3 separate regions of the Homo sapiens genome follow, and regions 2 and 3 are each linked to region 1. Evidence: promoter capture Hi-C in human tissues and cell types (Jung and others, 2019). All regions are on one chromosome and are shown on one strand. Each heading gives the region's core, a stretch centred on a gene start or on the middle of the fragment in contact. The rest is flanking DNA. Distances are from core to core; before and after follow the strand shown.

What was found. The method cuts DNA at HindIII sites, captures the fragments that hold promoters and counts their contacts. A contact is called where the count stands out against the background at its distance.
Region 2: a contact is called between a fragment that was not itself captured here and the fragment with the promoter of CYP3A4 in region 1, in 1 of the 25 tissues and cell types used here (pancreas).
Region 3: a contact is called between a fragment that was not itself captured here and the fragment with the promoter of CYP3A4 in region 1, in 2 of the 25 tissues and cell types used here (heart left ventricle and mesendoderm cells).

Annotation. Positions count from the first base shown.
Region 1 is chr7:99,782,491-99,786,347 of GRCh38, reverse strand. CYP3A4 (cytochrome P450 family 3 subfamily A member 4) reads left to right here and starts at 2,164. Exons shown (of 13, transcript NM_017460.6): 1 at 2,164-2,337. The coding sequence starts at 2,267. RefSeq lists an enhancer at 1,992-2,015, a silencer at 2,036-2,093 and promoters at 321-2,169, 1-2,214, 1,802-2,216, 912-2,216. The HindIII fragment of the contact is 10,602 bases long and covers 1-3,857 here.
Region 2 is chr7:100,019,781-100,023,637 of GRCh38, reverse strand. It overlaps ZKSCAN1 (zinc finger with KRAB and SCAN domains 1), which reads right to left. Exons shown (of 6, transcript NM_003439.4): 2 at 1-219. The coding sequence starts at 131. Among named protein-coding and RNA genes, the nearest start is that of ZKSCAN1, 6.1 kb to the right of the region's middle. The HindIII fragment of the contact is 5,144 bases long and covers 1-3,857 here.
Region 3 is chr7:99,645,418-99,649,274 of GRCh38, reverse strand. CYP3A5 (cytochrome P450 family 3 subfamily A member 5) reads left to right here. Exons shown (of 13, transcript NM_000777.5): 13 at 875-1,081. The coding sequence ends at 970. It also overlaps a transcript of ZSCAN25 not described here. Among named protein-coding and RNA genes, the nearest start is that of ZSCAN25, 30 kb to the right of the region's middle. The HindIII fragment of the contact is 7,540 bases long and covers 1-3,857 here.

The DNA.
Region 1 (3,857 bases), core at 915-3,414:
CAACCAATTTGTGGTTGCAGCCTTGAGTCTCACTATTTCCCATAGTGATGCGTAGCAGGGAATGGCAGGTGCACCAGAGCAGGAGAGGACCTAATATCTCCCTTCCTGTTAGCTTTTTATAAAGTTTTATTGTGATCAGTAGCAGTTGGGAAGCTACTTGCAGTCACTGAGCCTCAGTTTCTACATCTGTAAACTGGGGATAGTAGCATGGCCCCTACTTAATGTGCTCAGCAAAGCCACTGAAAGGAGACAGAAATGTATCTAAATTCCCTGGACTTTTATCCTACCTCTCTTGGGGATTGTCACCACCTTCCCATGTTTGTCCTTTTTGGTTTGATGCTTGCTGTCACTTCTTTCCTTAGGTGCCTCTCTGTACGGCTCTTTTATCCCAGGGATTCCAGAGTTACAGCACATGCATACCACCATCCAAGCATGTTTATTTGTCTCCTGCTTCACTAGGCTGTCCCCAAGGAACATGTGGCTCCCGGCACACACCTGGCACAACACTGCACATGACATTCACCCACTTGGCCTTGAATCTGACAAGGAATCTGGCATGATGTTCACCCACTCAGGCCAGGTGCCGAGCAGCCCTGGAGGCTTAGGGGCCAGAGGGATGGGAAAAGGTGTCTTTCTGGGGTGAGTATCAGTTTCTGCAGGAGGGCTGAATGTGAGAAAGAATAAAGAGAGAAGGAAGCGAACAAGCACAGCTTAAACATCGCCTATTTCTATTGAGTTTTAAGAACGCTGTGATTTTGTTTGTCATGCAATCCATTCATCAGGCCAGGCAGACACAGAACTTGGGTGTGAGTGACGATAATGAGCTGATATAATTTTCACACCCTCATCACTGAGATCTCTCCCATCAGGAATGGGTCAGGGAGCTCACAGGTGGCAGCAACTGCTATTACAGGCCTCATCTCTACCAGCTCCTGGGGCCTGCCCTCCTCCCATTAGAAAATCCTCCACTTGTCAAAAAGGAAGCCATTTGCTTTGAACTCCAATTCCACCCCCAAGAGGCTGGGACCATCTTATTGGAGTCCTTGATGCTGTGTGACCTGCAGTGACCACTGCCCCATCATTGCTGGCTGAGGTGGTTGGGGTCCATCTGGCTATCTGGGCAGCTGTTCTCTTCTCTCCTTTCTCTCCTGTTTCCAGACATGCAGTATTTCCAGAGAGAAGGGGCCACTCTTTGGCAAAGAACCTGTCTAACTTGCTATCTATGGCAGGACCTTTGAAGGGTTCACAGGAAGCAGCACAAATTGATACTATTCCACCAAGCCATCAGCTCCATCTCATCCATGCCCTGTCTCTCCTTTAGGGGTCCCCTTGCCAACAGAATCACAGAGGACCAGCCTGAAAGTGCAGAGACAGCAGCTGAGGCACAGCCAAGAGCTCTGGCTGTATTAATGACCTAAGAAGTCACCAGAAAGTCAGAAGGGATGACATGCAGAGGCCCAGCAATCTCAGCTAAGTCAACTCCACCAGCCTTTCTAGTTGCCCACTGTGTGTACAGCACCCTGGTAGGGACCAGAGCCATGACAGGGAATAAGACTAGACTATGCCCTTGAGGAGCTCACCTCTGTTCAGGGAAACAGGCGTGGAAACACAATGGTGGTAAAGAGGAAAGAGGACAATAGGATTGCATGAAGGGGATGGAAAGTGCCCAGGGGAGGAAATGGTTACATCTGTGTGAGGAGTTTGGTGAGGAAAGACTCTAAGAGAAGGCTCTGTCTGTCTGGGTTTGGAAGGATGTGTAGGAGTCTTCTAGGGGGCACAGGCACACTCCAGGCATAGGTAAAGATCTGTAGGTGTGGCTTGTTGGGATGAATTTCAAGTATTTTGGAATGAGGACAGCCATAGAGACAAGGGCAGGAGAGAGGCGATTTAATAGATTTTATGCCAATGGCTCCACTTGAGTTTCTGATAAGAACCCAGAACCCTTGGACTCCCCAGTAACATTGATTGAGTTGTTTATGATACCTCATAGAATATGAACTCAAAGGAGGTCAGTGAGTGGTGTGTGTGTGATTCTTTGCCAACTTCCAAGGTGGAGAAGCCTCTTCCAACTGCAGGCAGAGCACAGGTGGCCCTGCTACTGGCTGCAGCTCCAGCCCTGCCTCCTTCTCTAGCATATAAACAATCCAACAGCCTCACTGAATCACTGCTGTGCAGGGCAGGAAAGCTCCATGCACATAGCCCAGCAAAGAGCAACACAGAGCTGAAAGGAAGACTCAGAGGAGAGAGATAAGTAAGGAAAGTAGTGATGGCTCTCATCCCAGACTTGGCCATGGAAACCTGGCTTCTCCTGGCTGTCAGCCTGGTGCTCCTCTATCTGTGAGTAACTGTCCAGGCTCCTCTTCTCTGTTTCCTTGGACTTGGGGTGCTAATCAGGCCTCTCTTTCCCTTATCTGTTTTGAAGATCAAAAAAGATGTTCAGGCCGGGCGTGGTGGCTTACACCTGTAATCCCAGCACTTTGGGAGGCTAAGGCAAGTGGACTGCCTGAGGTCAGGAGTTCAAGACCAGCCTGGCTAACATGGTGAAACTCTGTCTCTACTAAAAATACAAAAATTAGCTGGGCATGGTGGTGCACGCCTGTATTCCCAGCTACTTGGGAGGCTGAGGCAGGAGAATTGCTTGAACCCGGCAGGCGGAGGTTGCAGTGAGCTGAGATCATGCCAGTGCACTTCAGCCTGGGTGACAGAGTGAGGCTGTCTCAAAAAAAAAAAAAAAAAAAAAAGATGTTCAAGGAGCAGTAGCTTAAGTGTTGGATGCTACAAACATATAGAGGTTATTGTAGATCTTATGCAGCTCTATAAAGGAATAAATAAGCATCTTCCCCATCCATCTTTAGTGGCAAGAAGGGTTTTGGGATAGCATTGATTGAGGATGATCTACTTGACAATAGTTTGGACCCAAGGAGGATAAGGAAGGAAAGTAGTGACGGATCTCATTCCAAACTTGGCTGTGGAAACCTGGCTTCTCCTTACTAAACTAGAATTTGGATTTTACATTTTCCCCTTTATGTTGCAGTAGAAGAGGATGAATCCTCTCACTGGTGGGATCCTGCCATCCTAGAGCAGGTAGAGAGAAGAGTCACTCCCCACTGTGGGTAGTGGAGGCTTCTCACATGTCACATTTCACTTCTACCTCAATTTCACTCTTACTAAGATTTGGGAATCATAATGACAGGAAAATAGAAAATATAAACCTCATTTTAATTCTTTCACAGAAAGGTTAGAAATTCAGTGAGTTGTGGCAACATATTTTCCATCTTCTGACCTTTTAACACTAATTGATATGGCTTAAATTCATTCTATTTTAAACCAGATTTTTTTGGAGATAGTCTATTTCCAACATGTTCCTTCTAGGTGACAAATGAGGGCTGTTAGTTCAGTATTTGTTACAATAAATGTGTGTAAAATAACCTCACCTTTCCAGAATCATGTCAGGAATATGAATCTAATGCACAAATGTATAACTCTATGACAAGATTGCATATATCTTTTAAAATATACCTTCCCAACGTTCATTTTAATACCCCTATTTCAAACAAACCTGCTTAGCAGGTTATGTTAAACGCTCAGGGCAGAGGAGTAAGCAAGACTGTGAGCCAGTGATGACAGCAAAAGCATCCAGGTAGGATCAAAATGGAGTAAGAAAATATTCCTCATCCCTCAGGGTAGAACTCCAAAGAGATATTCATGGGTCCTGGCCCCGTAGTGGAGGTCACTCAAAGGACAAACATGTTTGCATCTCATCTGCTTGAAGCCTGGACACAGAGGCACCATCTGTGTCACTCTGTGTGTGGTCTGCCATGTTGTGGGGTGGTCACTACAGACTCAGGCAGCTGGGC
Region 2 (3,857 bases), core at 663-3,162, 240 kb before region 1:
AGGGTGGAATCCTGCCCCCACATGTGGTCTTCCTCATCTTCCTCTTCCACCTTCACTATTACGATACCATCCTTCTCCTGTGCAGCCTGTGGGGACAGACCCGTGGCTTCCCGTGATTCAGCAGTCATCATTCAGGCTCCAGGAACTGACTTGATCCAAACAGGGTCTGTGCTCACCTTTATGTCCTGGGAGGTTTTATGATGTGTTTCTTTACTATTCCTGAAGTATAAAAAAAAAGTCATTAGTACGTACCTTTACAAAAAGTGATCTGTGCTGCTAACACTTTATAGGAGGCAGCACATCGAGGCACTATCAGAACGCTCCTGAGGCCGGGGGTGGTGGCTCACGCCTGTAATCTCAGCACTTTGGGAGGCCGAGGCAGGCCAATCGCCTGCGGTCAGGAGTTCAAGACCAGCCTGGCCAACATGGTGAAACCCCGTCTCTACTAAAAATACAAAAGTCAGCAGGGCATGGTGGCAGGCGCCTGTAATCCCAGCTACTCGGAAAGCTGAGGCAGGAGAAACGCTTGAACCCAGGAGGTGGAGGTTGTAGTGAGCCGAGATTACGCCACTGCACTTCCTACCTGGGAGACAAGAAGTTAAACTCCGTCAAAAAAAAAAAAATCCTGACAAATCGAGGAAAAAACTGTACAATCTCCACTGTCACTTCATATATCAAGATTTGCAAACAGAAACCTCAAACAGGCCGACTCCACCCTCAGGGTGTTTGCTTGGAGTCAGAGTGATTTACCTGCAGGTTGACAGCAGGTTACGAAATGGAGCATTAACAGTGCCCAGCCCAGAGAGCTGAATGTTAGCAGAGTGCCAGGTGCCAGGCTTAAAGCAGTACACGCACCATCTTCTTTTGTCCCTACAACAGCCCTAGCAGGTCGGCCAAACTGTTAAGTGCTGTTTTACAAATGACATAACTGAGGGTTAGGTTTGCTCAGTAGTAGGTGGCTGCCTACTGGAGTCAATATTCAACCAAATTTGAAGCCCTGGGACCTACTTTTGTACCATCCAGCTACTTTTGCTATTTTTATGAGTGACTTGGGCAGTTAAATTGTGGTTTCCAAAGTACAAGATGATCCGCAAAGGATACAGAAAGAAAATAATTGGAATGTCTGTATCTTAAAAGAGAGAGAAATTAAGCTATAAATTGACACTAATACACTTACTTAGTCTGTGCTGACCTGTCACAGGTGTTGTTCATTTTAGACATTGTGATGTAGACTGGTTTATCTGAGACCAGTTATGTGAAATAATGGATTTCTAAATCTAGCTTTGGCTGGGCGCAGTGGCTCATGCCTATAATCCCAAAACTTTGGGAGGCCAAGGCGTGCGGATCACGAGGTCAGGAGATCGGGACCATCCTGGTCAACATGGTGAAACCCTGTCTCTACTAAAAATAGAAAAATTAGCTGGGCGCGGTGGCGGGCACCTGTAGTCCCAGCTACTTGGGAGGCTGAGGAAGGAGAATCACTTGAACCCAGGAGGCGGAGGTTGCAGTGAGCCGAGATCGCGCCACTGCACTCCATCCTGGCCACAGAGCGAGACTCTGTCATAAAAGAGACAAGCAGCTTTAAAGATTCTTGTGGCCAGATATGGTAGCTCATGCCTATAATTCCAGCCCTTTGGGAGGATGAGGCAGGAGGATGCTTGAAGCCAGAAGTTTGAGACCAGCCTGGGCAACATAGCAAGACCCTGTCCCTATGAAAAAGAAAAAAATTAGCTGGGCATGGGGACTGTGTCTGCAGTCACAGCTACTCAGGAGGCTAAGGTGGGAGGATTGCATGAAACCAGAAGTTTGAGGCTGCAGTCAGCTACGATCACGCCACTGCATTCCAGCCTGGGTGACAGAGCAAAGCCCTATCAGGAAAAGGAAAAAAAAAAAAAAAAAGATTCTTATAGAGAAACTGCAATTACAGGACACACTAATAATATAAACAGATGTGAACAAGAAGAAAATGGCACAGATGAAGCTTCTATCTAGAGTAAGGTTTTAGCCACATTAGGAGGTAAAAACCAATGTCAGTCTAAATCAAAGAAAAAGTCACCAATGAGTAATCAGCTTCTTTAAAGAAAGTGTGAAGAAAGGGCAATTACAGGAACAGCTGTATGAAATGGTTCCATTGTTATGTAATTTAACTGCCAAAAATGATGTCAAGTATCCAGGAAAAACCCATCTATGTTCACATTTTAGAAACTTGGGGCTGGGTGAGGTGGCTCATGCCTGTAATACCAGCACTTTGGGAGGCTGAGGCAGGGAGCAGGGGGCCACCTGCGGTCAGGAGTTCAAGACCAGCTTGGCCATCATCGTGAAACCCCGTCTCTACTAAAAATACAAAAAATTAGCTGGGCATGGTAGCAGGCGCCTGTAATCCCAGCTATTTGGGAGACTGAGGCAGGAGAATCGCTTGAACCCAGGAGGCTGAGGTTGCAGTGAACTGAGATCACGCCATTGCACTCCAGCCTGGGTAACAAAGTGAGACTCCATCTCAAAAAAAAAAAAAAAAAAAAAAGGAAAAAAAAAAGAAACTTGGAAATATTTTCTAACCTGTTTAAAAATCTTTCAAATGAAGAATTTCAGGTGGGTCTTAAGCCTATTTGTTAAAAATATAAAATGCCACCACCTGATTAGTTTGTAAGACTATACCCTGCATTTCAACAACAAAAATTCAGCATGGTTGATAGGTTGGATCAATCACAAGTTACTAAGCAGAACTGACACTGTGATTCTTCCATCTGAAGCTACAAATCTTTCTGAATTTATTCTTTTCACCTCTACAGCCATCAAAACTAAGCATCAAATTGAAGTTTTAGAAACAGACCATTAAACTGCTTTATCATGATGGGTTAAACCGAGTTTTAAACTAGCAAAAGCATTTTTAGTTTTATGGCTCTCACTAAACATATTCTTAATTTTGGTGAAAAAGGGATCATGTACATATAACAGCACAAAAATTATATATACATATATATTGAAACGGAGTCTTGCTCTATCGCCCAGGCTGGAGTGCAATGGCATGATCTCAGCTCACTGCAACATCCGCCTCTCGGGTTCAAGTAATTCTCCTGCCTCAGCCTCCTGAGTAGCTGGGATTACAGGCCATACTTATTTTTTTTAATCTAGTTCCATGAAGTCCAGCTTCCTTTCTTTGGTTCCCTGCCTTCATTTTCTCCCTTCTCTCCCACAATCCACCTTTCAGATTATTCTTTCTAAAACTCTACAGCCTTGCAGTTAATACTTTCCAGTGCCTGGTCCCAATTTTCCCTCAAGCTTCTTTTCCCATCAATCCCCCCATAAACCTTCCCTATGCAACAAAAGCCCTCTCATCAGTATTTCCTATATATGCCTTGTATTTTGACTGCCATCCTTTCCTCACATCACACTCCATGCCTGGGACTTCCCCCCGCAGTCCTCTCTGCCTTTTCAAATCCTACTTAACCTTTAAAGCTAGCTAAAACGCGACTTGCCTCTTATCACTGTTCAAGAACCCTCTCATAACTATAACAGTAAGAGCCAATGTTTACTGAGTGCTTTCTAGGTACCGGGTATTTAAGCATTTTCACTTGACCACATAACAATCTTAGCAGGTAGCTACACTTATCATCTCACTGTATAAAGAACTGAGAGGCTGAGCGCAGCGGCTCATGCCTGTCATCCCAGCACTTTGGGAGGCCAAGGCAGATAGATAACCTGAGGTCAGGAGTTCGAGACCAGCCTGGATAACATGGCAAAACCCCATCTCTACTAAAAATACAAAAATTAGCCAGGTGTGGTGGTGCAATGCCTGTAGTCCCAGCTACTCGGGAGGCTGAGGCAGGAGAGTTGCTTCAACCTGGGAGGCGGAGGCT
Region 3 (3,857 bases), core at 712-3,211, 140 kb after region 1:
GGTTGCCATCTTATCTATGGCTTCAGGGCAGCTGTGTAGCTTTCCTATGTGTGTATTCAGGCAGGGGGCTCAGCCCTGAGAGAAAGTGGGCCTCTGGCACACCTGGGACAGGGAAGATATTCCCTGGCAAGCTCTCAGGCATCTCAGGCTGGCACTTCTTTGTATCCATGGCAATTTGCTTTCCCCTCACTGAACTGAGATCAGAATGTTACTCTGTTGGTGGCTCCCCCAACAGTGAAGGGGTGACTCAGTGACAATAGTGCTAGAAGTATGAGTCAAAACACTGTACAACTTGAGAAATTCCCCGTTTGCACTACGCTTGGAAGCCAAGAGGAGATGTTAAAAAGAAAAGAATAATTCTTTCTGAAGACATTTCCCATCATTGCACTTGATGGGTTCAACTGGGAAGGGTTACTAGACTCTGGAAGTTGAAAACTGCCCACATAATTAAACTGTACAACAGCTACTCAGGATTACCTTGCAAGTTTTAACCTATAAAAATTTAACTTTATATAGCACTTCCAAAATAGTTTGCCATAATACCTACTAATCTGGATTTAATTTTTAAAACTCATCCTTTTAACTTAAGATTTAAATAAAAAAAAAAAAACACGAGTCCACAAGAATTTGTCTCAGGCCTGGCACAGAGTCAGTGCTCCATAAATATTTTGTTAAACGATGGATGGTGAGTGCTTTTACTATCCAGTATTTACCCAGCTTATAGATTAAGTATGAAGAGTTCAAGATACATGGTGTTAAGAGTCGTTTTTATATGCTTGCAAAGCATTTTTGTCATATTTTTTCTACTTTGCTTCCATCTTTTCTTCTTTCACTTCATTTATTAATTCTCCATATGCTTGTTTAACTATTGTAGATCCCCTTGAAATTAGACACGCAAGGACTTCTTCAACCAGAAAAACCCATTGTTCTAAAGGTGGATTCAAGAGATGGAACCCTAAGTGGAGAATGAGTTATTCTAAGGATTTCTACTTTGGTCTTCAAGAAAGCTGTGCCCCAGAACACCAGAGATTTCAACTTAGTCAATAAAACCTTGAAATAAAGATGGGCTTAATCTAATGTACTGCATGAGTAGTTGGTGATTTTGTACATTCATTGAGCTCTCCCAGAGTCTGTGTAGAGTGTTGTGCATTATGTAGTATAAAGGAGGTGACCAGGTAAGTGACAGATAGGTAGACTCAGCTTCTCTGCTTCTCATAGGACTACCTCTACCCACCTCTAGTTAGCATTATCAACTCCTCCTGAGCTCTCATCAGAGAATAAATATTTCTCAACAATTTGATCCATAACTTTTAAGAAAAATAAGAATTATCATGATGACTCTAATAGTGACATTTATATCACGTTTTATTTGTAATATTCTATAAGTTTTATATTAAGCGAAGTGATAAAATCCCCTTTACAAAAATATTATCTGATGCCATCCTGCACACTAAAGAGAAATCTATAGAACTGAATGACTGAAAACCAGCAAATAAACATTTTTTATCATTGTAATCACTGTTGGTGTGGGGCCTTTGTCAGAATTCCAATTTGATTATTAACATAGGTGAGAGTTAATCTGCTGTGACTTTGCCCATTGTTTGGAGAAAATATTCATAGTTTCATTCTGCCTTCTTTGAAGAACATATTTTTTGTAACACTCAACGAAGCACTTATCATATTATTAGTTATGATTTATTATTTTTACCACATCTCCCCTGACATTTCTGGAACACAGGAAACATGTTTTCTTATACGTCTTGCATTCCATCTTCACCTCCCAATTGTCTTAATGCAATGAACACTGAATAAAAAATTGTCAATTCGTCAGTTGATTGGGCAGCATGTCTAAAAGCACTATTCATTTTCCTTTTTTATTCTTTCATTTTCCCTCCTTTTCTGAATACTAAAGCCATTAGGTGGGTTGCAGCCATGTGGTAGCCACACATTAAGGTGGACAAGAGAGTCATGGTGGCTCCAAGTCAGATTCCAAGTGTGCTGGGGAAGGCATCCACATGGAGGGGCAGCCTGACCTGGAAGCGGGAGCCCAAGCAATCAGAGAAGGGGTCCACACAGAGGTGTGGCCTTCAAGAGCAGCCAGAGCCTAAATAGGGCCTGGAGAACCCACGTGAGGTGAGGAGGGTATCCCTGAGTGGGAAGGGATGGGTGAGAGTTGGCTACATAGAAGGGATTGATCACATAAGTAAATAAAGTATACTGGAAGCTAGGTGTGTCACTTTTGCAGAAAAGAGTCATAGATTCAGAAAGGGAGAAAGCTAGCATTAATCCTATGGTGTTAGATTGGAATGGATGTATCAGTGTACATTCATACTTTTCTAGATAGATAGATGGATAGATAGACAGATGATAGATAGATAATAGATAGTTGATAGATAATTAGATGTAAATATATGTGTTTGTATGTGTGAGCATGCATGTGTGTGTGTGTGTGTGTGTGTGTGTGTGTGTGTGTGTGTATAAAACATATATTCCCTACTTCACTGATAGGGCTAGATAACAATGACATTTCAATAGCAATGAGTATACTTAGTGCCTAGATCTTGGCTTATGAATATCATTTTCCACTGAAGGGAACCAGAGCTCGTTAGAGAAATAGCTGATGCCAGGGCTAGGACTAAAAATGTTCAAGATGAGCCCAGGACACTTTTTGTGCCAGGAAGTAAGAAAACACTCAAATGGTTTCTAAATGGTATTTGGAAATGATTTCTAAATGATATTTCCATATGACTTCCAAATGATATTTTAAAAACCTAAAGACTCCACCAAAGAACTATTAGAACTGATAAACAAATTCAGTAAATTTGCAGGATACAAAATCAACGTACAAAATTGGTAGCACTTCTATATGCCAGCAAGGAACAATCTGAAATAAAATCAATAGCCACAAATAAAATTAAATACCTAGGAATTAACTTAATCAAAGAAGTGAAAGATCTCTACAATGAAAACTATAAAACACCGATGAAAGAAATTGAAGAGGACACAAAAACATAGAAAGATATTCCATGTTTATATATTTCAAGAATCAATATTGTTAAAAATGCCCACAATACCCAAAGCAATATATGGATTCAATGCAATCCCTATCAAAATACCAATGACATTCTTCACAGAAATATTTTTTTAATCCTAAAATTTGTATGGATTCACAAAAGACCAAGAAGAGCCAAAGCTAACATCAGCAAAAAGAACAAAACTGGAGGAAACACATTTACCTGACTTCAAAGTATACTACAGAGCTATAGTAACCAAAACAGCCTGGTACTGGTATAAAAACAGACACATAGACCAATGGAACAGAATAGAGACCCCAGTAACAAATCTACACATCTACAGTGAACTCATTTTTGACAAAGGTGCCAAGAACACAGACTGGGGAAAAGAAATGCAAACTATACATCCAACAAAGGTCTAATAGCCAACATCTATAAAGAACTTAAATGTACAAGAAAAAAAAATTAAAAAATGGGCAATGGACATGAACAGACATTTTTCAAAAGAAGACATACATGTGGACGACAATCATATAAAAAAAAAGCTTAACATCACTGATTACTAGAGAAGTGCAAATCAAAACCACAATAAGATACCATCTAACACCAGTCAGAATGGCTATTAATAAAGAGTCAAAAAATAACAGGTGTGGCAAGGTTGTGGAGAAAAATAAACACTTATACACTGTCGGTGGGAGTGTGAATTAGTTCAACCATTATGGAAAATAGTGTGGCAATTCCTCAAAGATCTAAAGACAGAAATACCATTTGGCCCAGCAATCCCATTACTGGGTATATATCCAGAGGAATATAAATCATAAAGACACATGCACACATATGTTC